2 separate regions of the Homo sapiens genome follow, and region 1 is linked to region 2. Evidence: promoter capture Hi-C in human tissues and cell types (Jung and others, 2019). All regions are on one chromosome and are shown on one strand. The core of a region is centred on a gene start or on the middle of the fragment in contact, and the rest is flanking DNA. Distances in the headings are between cores, read along the strand shown. Region 1 overlaps DNAAF9 (dynein axonemal assembly factor 9). Region 2 holds the start of GNRH2 (gonadotropin releasing hormone 2).

Region 1 (6,767 bases), core at 1,454-3,953, 210 kb before region 2:
GTATTGGTATTGGAAGAAGAGGGAGACAATATGGGGGGTCGGCAGCTATCAGTTTCTGCTGTAGGGGACCACTGAGGGCTCCAAGCATAGAACCATCATGGTTCAGATGGGAGAATTACATGGGTCCTTAGCTCATAGCTTTTGCTTGATTTATGTGATCAAATCAGAAACTTCGGCCCCACACCCAAGCCCACTAATCTCAGGCTCCAACAGCCAGCCCCTGCTGCTTCAGAGGTCTTGGTACTTTTGTTTTTCCCTCTCACCCATCACCTCCTTTTCTTCTTTTTTTTTATTTCTTTTTTGGCTGGGTGCAGTGGCTCACGCCTGTAATCCCAGCACTTTGGGAGGCCGAGGCAAGAGGATCACTTGAGGTCAGGAGTTCGAGACCAGCCTGGCCAATATGGTGAAACCCCATCTCTACAAAAAATAAAAAAAATTAGGCCAGGCTCGGTGGCTCACACCTGTAATCCCAGCACTTTGGGAGGCCAAGGCAGGCAGATCATTTGAGGCCAGCAGTTTGAGACCAGTCTGACCAACATGGTGAAACCCTGTCTCTACTAAAAATACAAAATTAGCTGGGTGTGGTGGCGGACACCCACCTACTGTAGGACACCACCTAGCTGTAATCCCAGCTACTTGGGAGGGTGAGACAGGAGAATCACTTGAACCTGGGAGATGGAGGTTGTAGTGAGCCAAGATTGTACCACTGCACTCCAGCTTGGGCAACAAGAGCAAAACTCTGTCTCAAAAAAAAAAATTAGCCGGGCATGGTGGCACATGCCTTTAATCCCAGCTACTTGGGAGGCTGAGGTAGGAGAATCACTTGAACCCAGGAGGCGGCCGTTGCAGTGAGCCGAGATTGTGCCACTGCACTCCAGCCTGGGCGACAGAGTGAAACTCCGTCTCAATAAAATAAATAAATAAATATTTTTATTTCTTTCTTCTTTTTATTTTTTGAGACAATGTCTCACTTTGTCACCTAATCCAGAGTATAGTGGTTTGATCTCGGCTCACTGCATCCTTGACCTCCCAGGCTCAAGCGATCATCCTACCTCAGCCTCCCAAGTAGCTGGGACTATAGGCGTGAACCACCATGCCTGGCTGATTTTTTTTCTTTTTTGTGGAGACAAGGTCTCCCTATGTTGCCCAGGCTGGTCTCGAATTCCCGGGCTCAAGTGATCCTCCTGCCTCGGCCTCCCAAAGTGCTGGAATTAAGGTATTAGCCACCACACCCAGCCTCTTGTTTATTTAGATCTGCTATTGACTCTTTTTTTGTTCAAATTTAACCTCGCTTTTTTCCGGATCCTTTCTCATCCTGCCTTTCAGGGAGCCCTTGCCCACTTCTTGGGTCTCCAGTCACTCCTAGCCCTCATCTCCTTAGCATGTAACACTTTTTCCCATTCTCATCTGTGTGACCTTCGTGCAACACTGCTGTACTGGTTTTTTTGTCTGTTTTGTTTTGTTTTTGAGACAGGGTCTTGCTCTGTTGCCCAGGCTGGAGTGCAGTAGTGCAATCCTAGGTCACTGCCCACCCCAGCCTCCCAAGTAACTGGGACTACAGGAACATACCATCACACCCAGCTAATTTTTTTGTTGTACTGTTGGCTGTGCCCTCCTCCCTTGGCCTCTGAGGCCTCTGCTGAGAGCCCCCCACTTCTACCAAGGGGGTTTCTTTGCTTTTCCTCAACCACCTCTTCCATAACAGCTATTCCAGCAACCACCAGGGACTATGTGGATGTCTCACGCTCAGGGTCTTAGAGACTTTCAAATGCCACAAGTGCAGAGTCAAACTCTTCCTCTTCTCCCACCTATAAACCTTTTTTTTCTCTTGTGTTTCCCTTCTGGGATAATAGTGTCCACCTGATCACCCAGATCAGCCAAGCCAGAAACTTATTTTGTTCCTCTCTGTCTCTCTCTCTTACTCCATCCTTTCTTTTCCTTTTTAAAAAACAAAACAAAATGGGATCTCCCTCTGTCACCCAGGCTGGAGTACAGTGGCGCAATCTCAGCTCACTGCAGCCTTGAATTCCTGGGCTCAAGTGCTCCTCCTGCCTCAGCCTCCTGAGTAGCTGGGACCACAAGCATGAGCCACTGTGCCCACCTACTCCATCCTTTCTAAGCTGCCACCAGTCACATCAGTTCTGTCTCTTGCATTTTCTCATGAATCTATCCCAACCATCTGCATTGTCACAGTCTTAGCATAGCTGTATCCTTTCAAGGCAGGCTCTCAGGGACTAATGTGTATTCTCCTTACAGACTCTGAGAGGACCATGGAGGTCTGCTACAACACACTGGCCAACTCCTTGAGCATCATGCCAGTTTTGGAAGGACCCACACCACCACCAGACTCCAAAAGCGTATCTCAAGACAGCAGCGGGCAGCAGGAGTGCTACCTTGTGTTCATCGGCTGCTCCCTGAAGGAAGACAGCATCAAGGACTGGCTGCGGCAGTCAGCTAAGCAGGTGGTTTCCAGAGCCCAGACAGACCTGACACAGATGTGACCAGACACCTCAGAGCTGCTGTTGGCCCTGAGAAGCCCCGCCACTGCCTCCCTGATGCCTCCCCACTGGGCTTCCTCTCCCTGGCCCAGCCAGCACTTGCAGGGACACTTTGAGAGAGGGAGGAAGCCACTGAGAGCAAACTCCAGGCAGGCCTGCTATGTTGTTTGCTTTGTGAGCCAGGTTCTCTGCAAGGTTTGGGTGCTAAGCCTTGTAGCACAGCCTTGGGGGTTTAGTTCATCCTAGAACTCTGGGACTAGAGTTAGCTGGGGCCTGGCTCTTCTGCAGATGCTCACTAGGGACCTGTCTTTATGCTGAGGGATGGGCTGCCTCACTTGGATAAGCTTCTAAACGGTTCTTGACTGTGGGGCCTCAGACTGCCCCTTTGTCTGCCTCTCATTGGTAGGGTTGAGGGATAAGAATCTACAAAGAGGCACGACCATTCCCATTTACGAAAACACTGGGCTGTCCTCTGCTGCTTGTTCCCTGCTGGCTCACAGGGCTCTGTGATGGGAAAGTGGTTTTCTCAAAGAGCAGACTAGACAGAATATTATATCCAGGCCATAGCGCACGTGCTTTCCCCACTGCTGAGATCTTAGTTGTGTAATAGAGCCCAGAGCCCTCCCCTGCCCATGCACTCCATGAGTTCTGCTGGGACCTGACCCTCCACTCCCCATCTCTGCAGAAGCCTCAGAGGAAAGCCCTGAAGACCAGGGGGATGCTGACGCAACAGGAGATCAGGAGCATCCACGTGAGTGCCTTGCCCTGGCTTCTCCCCTCGGTGGCCCAGGGCTGTCCTCGGCTTGCCTAGCTCTGTATTTTGGATTCTCTGAGTGAGGAGCTGTTTGTAGGACATGCTGGAGGTCTTGCTTCTCCCAGGCCACAGAGGGAAGCTGCGTACAGAATTCTGGCCTTTGCAGCCTCAGTGAGGAGGGCACAGGAGACCTCTGGTGTGACCTGGGCATCAGATTGAGTAGAGCCAGTACTTGTGGGAGAAGCTGATGACCAGAAGCCCTGCCTTGGCACCTTGTTCAAGCAACTGCAGAAGACCTATGTTACAGATGAACCAGCTAGAGCCCAGGCAAAAACTGTCTGGATCCAGAGGCTGCTCATAGGAAGGCTGTGGAACCTGAGGCCAGGATAAGAGGCTGATTGAGAGACCCCCTTGATGAGCCTCCCAGCCTCCAGGCTCTGACCCCCAGCCTCTGCTTCAGTCGCCATGCTCACTGGGGCCTTTTCCTGAGGGGTTTGGGGACAAAAAGCTAAAAAGGACACAGAGTCTAGGTCCCCAGGATGCCAGTAATGAGCAGGTGGGGCAGGAAAGTATTCTGGGACTCCAGGAGCCCCTGCTTTGGATTTGAGGAGGCCCCTTTCATAAACAGCTCCTATAGGCCCGGACAACCTGGGTGCTCCTGGGGAGGACAACATGGGCATAAGGTAGTCCTTATAATGCATGTTCCCCTGAAAGCCAACCGTGAACAAGGAGTTAAGTACAGGTAGTTTATTTTGGAAGTGATTCTAGGAGACACTAAATAGGAAACAGGAGGATGAAAGAGGAGAGGGGGAAACAGCCAATAAAGAGTGTGTTTGTGGCCGGGCATGGTGGCTCACGCCTGTAATCCCAGCACTTTGGGAGGCTGAGGTGGGTGGATCACTTGAGGTCAGGAGTTCAAGACCAGCCTGATCAATATGGTGAAACCCTGTCTGTACTAAAAATACAAAAATTAGCCAGGCGTGGTGGCGCATGCCTGTAATCCCAGCTACTCGGGAGGCTGAGGCAGGAGAATTGCATGAACCCAGGAGATGGAGGTTGCAGTGAGCCAAGATCACGCCACTGCACTCCAACCTGGGTGACAAAGCAAGACTCTATCTCAAAAAAATAAATAAATAAATAAAAGAGTGTGTTTGCACATCAGTACCACTGCACACCGTGGGAACTTCATCCCACTAGGACCTCCCAGAGCTCCTCACCTGAGAGGTGGGGAACCACCTCAGGCAGGGCTTGAGGTTTGCCGGGGGTGTTAGCTTCCTAGCTCCTCTGTATAGCAGAGTAGTCTATCTTGCTAGGGAAATAGACTTGTTTGTTTTAATGAGTGAGTGAAGTATAGAAAGTAGTCAGATAATTATTACAGGTCTCTTTTCTCCTACAGGTAAAACGCCACTTGGAACCCCTACCTGCAGGCTACTTTTATAATGGCACCCAATTTGTTAACTTCTTTGGTGACAAAACTGATTTTCACCCACGTATCCTTGGAACAGCGTGGTCCCTGTGTGGAACCCGGGCAGTGAGGCTGGGAGTGTGTGACCCTGTCTGCAAAGCGGTTGTCTGCCAGAGCCATGCATTTGAGCCCCAGGAGCACTCTGCATGTCCACTGATGGGTCAGGAATGCACAGGGGCAAACCTCAGGGGCGAACTTTTCATTTCAGTCTCTAAAGCTGTTAAAGTTAAATTGCTCCTTTATTGAGTGATTGCTAATGTGACTCTGGGTTATAGTTTTTTGGTTTTGTCTTGTTTTAATTTTTTTTTGGAGATGGAGTTTCACTCTTGCTGCCCAGGCTGGAGTGCAATGGCGCAATCTCAGCTCACTGCAACCTCCGTCTCCCAGGTTCAAGTGATTCTCCTGCCTCAGCCTCCCGAGTAGCTGGGATTACAGGCGCCTGCCGCCGTGCCCGGCTAATTTTGTATTTTTAGTAGAAACGGAGTTTCTCCATGTTGGTCAGGCTGGTCTCAAACGCCTGACCTCAGGTGATCCTCCCACCTCAGCCTCCTGAAGTGCTGGGATTACAGACATGAGCCACCGCGCCCAGCTTAGAGACTAGGTCTCGCCATGTTGCCCAGGCTGGTCTCAAACTCCTGGGCTCAAGTGATCCATCTACCTCAGCCTCCCAAATTGCTAGTATGGCAGGCATGAGCCACTGCGCCCAGCCTGTGAGTTATAGTTTGGATGCAGCTGCGGTGATATCCTGAAGTCTGTCGTCATCAGAGTCACGATTTACAAGTCGAAGACAGCCTAATTACAACAGTTAACCTGTGAAAAGATGGATAGGGCTGAAGCTGAAGGGCTCAGTTCTAGGACCTCATTAACATCCCTGTGACAACAGCCATTGCATTCTTTGTAGCTGTGGTGCTGCCAGTATATACAAAGAGTCCATCAGGTTCCCTCTCTATGGGCCAGACACTCACTTCCTCAGCAAACCCCCCTCACCTGCCTACAGGCCGCTCTGGGCTCAGGCAGCCTCCCTTGTCCTCCAGGCTCAGAGCTCTCTTCCTTAATGAGATACCAGTCATGGACCAGTTCATGAATGACTACGTGGAAGAAGCCAACCGGGAAATTGAGAAGTATAACCAGGAGCTGGAACAGCAGGAGTATCATGACCTCTTTGAGCTGAAGCCCTAGAGGAAGGCTGGGCCCGTACGTCCTGCAGAATGTCCACCTTGGAGATGGACGAACGGGTGTCTTAACCTCAGCTCTGCTGGAGGCCTCTCCCTTAAGGGGCTGTCTTTGTTCTCCTTGGCCTGTGTGGGCTGGCTTGAGTGCATGTTGTCTTTATTCCCTGTATAGCGCTGAAGAGCATCACCTGCACCATTGATTTTGGGGGTCGGGGGAATACTCAAGGATGAGCAGATGGGGCCTGCCCGTCTACGTGTGCAACTGGCAGTCCAGGAGCTCTGGGTTTCTGATAACAGGATCTCCTTTGGGCTCTTGAGGTTGGGGAGAAGCATTAGGATTACACAGAGGAGCTACTGGGACTTAGAAGGAACCCTGGCTGCCTGAACTGTGGCCGTGTCTGGGAGGCGAGGCCACGACAGGCCTCAAGCCTCAGATGCTGCTCCACGAGAGCCATCTTCCCCAGTGGAGTGCCTGCCTCCCCTGCTAGGCCCGTTTCCCTGAAGGAGCTGGCCGTACTGGCCGTGGGCCCAGTCCTGGGAGGAGCAGCACAGCCTTGCCCAGGCCCAGTCCACAGAGCCAGCAGCTTGGGTTGAGATGAATGATGTGTTCACAAATGAGGGGATTTCCCTTCTGGACTAAACTGAAGGAGAGGCTTGTTGCTTTCCAGAGGTGTGTGGCTCTTAAGTTGACATCAGCTTTTCCCCTTGTGGGTGGTTCTTTAGCTCTCCTGTCACACCATTCGGGTGTCCTAATGTAGGGACAAGAGCAAGCCTGCTGCTCAGGCCCCCTGGCGAGGCTTCACCTCACTGTGGAAGGGGGCGTCCTGCAGCTGGTTAGTCTTAGGCCTGGTGGCTGATCACTTGTGGGGTCAGTCTCC
Region 2 (5,782 bases), core at 2,059-4,558:
CCTGAACACTGTCCAATTACTCCGCTCACCTCCGGGTCTTTGCGCCTGACTGGCACTCTCCTCTCCAAATCCGGACCTGCCAACTGTAAGTCTCTGCACATAGCCAGCGCCCGCGTCGCGGTGCCCAGAATTCCCAGTGCCCCGCAAGCCGCGTCCCCGGCTGGAGTCCCACCCTCCGGAGACGTTGCCCACCTGCAGCTGCAGCACTTCCCGCTCCTTGCGCTGCGCCCAGGCCTGCACCTCTTCGGCCTTGCGGGCCTGCTCCAACGCCTGCCGCTGCTCCTGCTCCCGCTCCTCCTGCCGCAGCCTCGCTATCCTGTGAGGGTCAAAGGGCCGAGGCTGAGCGGGGCCCGGGCTTCTCCCAGGCCGGCCAGGCCGCGCCGCCCCGCCCCGCCTCCCGCCCCACGCACCGCAGCTCGTGCAGCCGCCGGTTCTCCGCCTGGTTCCAGGCCATCAGCTCGCGGTGCTCGGCGGCGTCCTTCAGGGCCTTGCGCTCCGCCAGAACCCCGGCTCGGGCCTCGTGCACCTTCCTCTGCACCTCGGACACGAACTCCATCCTGGGTGCAGACGCGCCAGGAATCAGCACCCTCTCCGCCCACTCCCACCGTCACCAGCGCGCGCGGGCGGCCACCTCCCCCCGGCCGCACACCTGAGGGCGCGCACGGTCTGGCGGTAGTGCTGGTAACGCTCCATCAGCACGAAGAACTCCGCAGGGTCCACCGCGGGCGGCATGTTCACTCGCTCGATCTTGGATTTGGCCAGCGGGTCGTGGCGGGTCTTGCGGCCGCGCGCTGGCAGCACCAGAGGGGCCCGGGGCCTGCACGGGGTCCCCGCGCCCAGGCGGCTCAGCGCGCGTAGCATGGCCGAGTCTCCTCACTGCGGCCGCGGTGCCGGGACGCCACCGTGCCCCGGAAGCGGCGCGGGGAACCTTGGGACCTGTAGTCCTCGGGCTGTCCCTCACGCCCCGCCCGGCCGTGTGGCCTCTGGAACCGAAGCGGCGACCCTGCGGACGTCCGCATCCCGCCCCCAGGCTCTGGCCCGGCCTTCCCGCCAGGGCCCGGGGCCATCCCTTAGTTACTCCCGCCCGCGGGGCCGGACCCGCGTCCCTCCAGCCCCCACGCAGGGAAGGGTCTCAGCGGGGAAGACAGGGAGGGGACGAAGGACAGAACTCGACGCAACAGCTTCGGAGAACCTCACACTTTATTGGAGGATGGCGGGGCGGGGCGGGGCTCTCGGGCTGCGGTCTGCGGAGGGAGAGGTGGCGGTCATGTCTCAGGACACTGGTCTCGTAACCGCCGAGCTGCCATCTTCCTGGTTCTCTCCCCTCTCGTCCCCCCCAGTCCCCATGTGGCCTCCCACAGCAGGACGCCCCCCGCCTCCCGTAGAAGCCTGAGGATCCAGCTAGTGTGGGGATCTCCAGCTCCCTTGGGCATGCCCTCTTGTCCACCCTAAACAAGCCTGACGCATAGAAACCTCAGCACATACACACAAATCAGGCGGTAAGACATTGCCTCATAGGAACTAACCACTTTCTTCTTTAGTTACCGGGCTCTCCTGATGCACTGTAAATGTTTGATTTGCAAAACAGTAGCAAACCATTTCCCCACGCCTGTCTTCTGCTATGGTCTTGGGGAGCTCTGCAGTCCCTGAGATGTTCCTAGTGCACATGTCAGTCACCACCTGGTCCTCTTGGCCCTGTTGTCTGTTTGAGTGAGGTTGCATCCCTCACCTCTTTCCACTGGCCTGGGGTCTGTCCACCTCAAGACAGTCATTGGCTTGTCAGGATGCCTGTGGGATCCCATGGCCACCACTGTCTTATAGAACAATTATCTCCTTCTAGTCTACTAGTGACTTTGGTCTTTAACCCAAGTGCTTTGTAAATTGTCTAGAATCCTCCTGGGAAATAGGAAGGATAGCAGACAGCACCCTGCTGTGTGCAGTAGGGGCACTGAGAAATGGCTGGGGGTGCTGTGGCAGGGGGCATCTCAGTGGTGTTTCATTCTCCCCACCCTCCCAGCACCCAACCCTAAGCCACAATGGCCTCTGATGACCAGTGGCTGGTCTTGATGCTGGGGACCTCTCACCCTACTCACCAGCAGTGTCCGTGCCAGGTGTCGCTTCCTGTGAAGGGACCACTGGGCCGTGGTCCTGCCCTCCCAGGGCATGCTGTCGTCCAGGGGAGCCAGGGCATCACTTGGGAGGCCATGGGCAGTCTGGACTGGGCTGCCTGCTGCAGTGTCCAGGGCCCTTCCTTAGAAGGGAACTGATGCTGTCCTCCCTACCCCGACCTCAGGCTCCAGGAGGGTGGGGGAGCCCCCGGCCATCACTTTCTTCCTCCCCATGAGGCTGGGAGACACCCACCTGGGGGCCTAAGGGCATTCTGGGGATCCTGGGCTGAGCTGAGGGCTCGCTTTCCTCCAGGGTACCAGCCATGGGACCAGTGCTGAGCCTCTGAGGGTCCAAGGTGGGCAGTCAGCAGCAGCAGGAGCAGGAGGCCTCGCCTGGAGCTGGCCATGGCTGCTCTAATGGACAGGGTACAGCATTCAAGGAGACTTACCTCACCCCCACATCCCCCTACTTCCTCCAGGGCCACTTTGGAAAACTGGCATCTCAGGGGCAGCTTTGGTATCTCCTTATGCCCTTCCCTCTCTGCCACCGCTCCTCATCCCAAGCATACAGGGGTCCAGATCCTGGGGGATCCTGGCCCAGCAGGGGATGATGCTCCAGGGGACGAGCCTTCTCCCTGAGCCTGGGGCACAGAGGCTACCTGCCTTGCCAGCTCTGAGGGCCCTCCCACTTGTCCAGGTCCATCCATCTTTCCTTCAAGGAGTTTCCAGAAGTGGAAGAAAGTTGGAGGGGAACAGAGACCTGAATTCAGGCCAATGGATGGGAGGATAGATGGATGGTCAGGGGAGTTCTCAATGTAGGCGTGTTTGGAGCACCAGTGCTAGGGAACCAGAGTTGCAGGCCTTCTGCCCTTTTCTCCGTGGCCTGCTGTATCTCTTCCATAGTAGTTGGGGATGTGGAATGGATGAGTGGTATTGATGGGGGCAAGTGCTTCTACCCCTTATCCCTCCCATGCCAGGGGCAACAAGCACAAGAATAGATGGTAGAGCTGTTGGGGAGAGGAGAGGAAAAGGGGACTTCTCTGGCATGGTTCAGGGGTGGAGGCACCTGGGAATGGGGAAGAGGAGCAGCACACCATACGCCCAGGATGAAACTTGGTCCAGGTGTCCTAGCCCTTAGGGAAGGCTCCCCACTCACCAAGGAAGAGCTGTGGATGAGATGGCTCCTTCAGGCAGCTGCAGGACCCTAGCCTGATGGCCCCAGGATTTATAGACCAGGCAGCTCCACCCCCAGACTCCAGTGACGTCTTCAGAGGGGAAGAGAGAAGCTCACCACCCAACCCGCTTCCCAGAGCATCCAGTCCATGAACATTCACCAGGCAGCTGCTGCCCTGAGGCCACCGACACATGCTCCCTCCCCACCACCTTCCCAGGAGCCTTCAGGCCCAGGACTCTTGCTTTAGGCTGGCCTATGTCCTGGTCTCACCTTCCCACTTCCCAGGCTGCATCTTCAAGCTCCTGATCTTGAGACCTAGAAAGCCCTCACAGCCTTCCCTGATCCCAAAAGAGAATTGTGTCCTGGGCAGGGGCAATGCCTGGGGGCTCCCCAACTCCCAGCTCAGGGCTTTCCCTGGTGGACAGTGGAAGCCTAAGAGTAGGGAGCCTGGCAGGCTGTTCAGAGGTACAGGGGAGGCTGTGACCACTCTCCCAGAGGGCTTCCGTTTGCTCACTGTAGAGTGGGTTGGGTGGGACAATTCACATCCACACACCTGGGAACCAGGGCTGGGTCACTCCAGATGGCTGGGTTTGGGTGGGGCAGTACCTACCCCGGAGTGGCTTCTCTCCTGGCGAAGAAGCGGGCCCATGAGATGGGGCCCAGCTGTTGGGCCAGTGCAGTCTCCCTAGGTAGGTAGAATAATTTTGTCCCTCAAGGCTCTAACCCCTCCCCAGTCATGGATTTGGACACAGCTAGCCTGGGCTGCTGGAAGTGGGCTCTTGCTTCCCAGTCTGCGTCAGCAGCTCAGCTTTCCTTGGCCAGCCATCAGCCTCTGGGGGTCAGAGGCCTGTTTACAGGGTTCATAGCCAATCTCCGCACTTGGGCTGAACAGCAAATGGGAGGGCCAGGGTCATTTGGAGAGCTGGTGCGTCAAATCCTGTGACAAAGATGGGGGAGGGGAGGCATAATGGGCATCAGTCAGCCCTAGACACCTGGACTTCAGCAGCCAAGGCAGGATGGGCACACCTGTGAACTTCCAGACTGACTTATTAGCAGGGACCGGAAATCAACGTGTGGCCCATTTGTTCAGTTAAATTGTTTTGGCTTAAATATGCGGACTTTGTTAACTGGGTGATTTTTAGGGAAACATTTGCTTGTGGTTTAGTGAAAATGAATCTGAGTTCGACGTACTAGTTTAGTTCTGGTTGGGGTTTACAGAATGCTTTCTTCAAAGATGCACCAAGGCTGGTGTACCTTTAAAAGGGGGATGGTTGCCTTTATTTATTCTGTAATTTGATTCCGGCTTTTCCTGAAAAATCTAAACCAGAGCCAAGCTTCCTGGGGAAAGCTCTGCTCCCTTTTTTTTCCGGCAACATACTTAGCTTTTAAGAAATGTTTGGTCCTTTCCAGACTAGAACTGTGGAACTCTTGTATCCCTCTCATTAGAACATAGAAAGCCATCTGTTCACCACGGAGCTCCAGTCCTCAGGATATGAAGTCACTGCAGCCAGGAGCTGCGTGTACTCAGGTGGGAAAGCAGAGGTTCAGAGGTGAATAAACACTCAGGTGCTGCAGGAGCACAGAGAGGCACAAACCCTGAGCAGGCGGCCTGGGTGAAGGACAGAGACGAGTGAGCTGGAGTCACGGACGCAGGGAGTGGCAGCAGAGGGGTGCAGCATAAGGAACAAAATGGAGAAGGGCCAGCAGGAACTGCCGTGGATCCATGGGGCCAGAGTATGTGGGAAGGTTAGAGGAAAGGAGGGCGGGCCCCTGGGTGTGGGCAGTGGGAGGCAGGCATCTCTGGACCACCCTGACATGCGACCAGGATGCGGGGGACTTGGGATTGGAGGAGAGCTGAGGGTCCACAGAGACAGATCCAGAATCCTGACCTCTGAGAGAGGAGACAGTGGAGGAGCAGCTAAAGGGTGAGGATAAGAGGCAGAGGACAGCCTGTGACACAAAGGGGAAGAGACCATGGGTCCCTGGTGTTTAGCACCAAGGTGACCTTGGTGCGCAGGGATGGAAAAGAAATGTGTGGGAATGAAGTGAGGAAGGGGGAAGAGTGAGAACACAGGTTTCTGCAAGTAGTCTCTCATAGAGGGAAGAACTTAGGCCTGGGGTGGGAGACATGCTCTTTATTTAATTAATTAATTAATTCTTTTTCTTTTTCTTTTTTTTTTTTTGAGATGGAGTCTCGCTGTCATCCAGGCTGGAGTGCAGTGGCGTGATCTCAGCTCACTGCAGTTTCTGCCTCCCAGGTTCCAGCAATTCTCTTGCCTCAGCCTCCCCGGTAGCTGGGATTACAGGCACGTGCCACCACGCCCGGCTAATTTTTGTATTTTTAGTAGAGATGGTTTCACCATGTTGGCCAGGCTGGTCTCGAACTCCTGACCTCAGGTGATCCGTCCGCCTTGGCCTCCCAAAGTGCTGGGATTATAGGCATTAGCCACTGTGCCCGGCCTATTTTTTTTTTTTTTTGAGACAGGGTCTCACTCTTTGA

What was found. Contacts are between HindIII fragments. The study calls those that stand out against the background at their distance.
Region 1: a fragment that was not itself captured here is called in contact with the fragment with the promoter of GNRH2 in region 2 in 1 of the 25 tissues and cell types used here (lymphoblastoid cells).

The regions. Positions count from the first base shown.
Region 1 is chr20:3,251,701-3,258,467 of GRCh38, reverse strand. It overlaps DNAAF9 (dynein axonemal assembly factor 9), which reads left to right. Exons shown (of 37, transcript NM_001009984.3): 34 at 2,257-2,462; 35 at 3,184-3,249; 36 at 4,649-4,742; 37 at 5,784-6,767. The coding sequence ends at 5,896. Among named protein-coding and RNA genes, the nearest start is that of SLC4A11, 16 kb to the right of the region's middle. The HindIII fragment of the contact is 6,428 bases long and covers 1-5,917 here.
Region 2 is chr20:3,041,148-3,046,929 of GRCh38, reverse strand. It overlaps GNRH2 (gonadotropin releasing hormone 2), which reads right to left and starts at 3,308. Exons shown (of 4, transcript NM_178331.2): 1 at 3,265-3,308; 2 at 2,362-2,522; 3 at 2,094-2,230; 4 at 1,183-1,244. The coding sequence starts at 2,515. The coding sequence ends at 1,194. It overlaps MRPS26 (mitochondrial ribosomal protein S26), which reads right to left and starts at 878. Exons shown (of 4, transcript NM_030811.4): 1 at 650-878; 2 at 411-557; 3 at 193-316. The coding sequence starts at 861. RefSeq lists a silencer at 367-1,236 and an enhancer at 1,337-1,396. The HindIII fragment of the contact is 17,170 bases long and covers 1-5,782 here.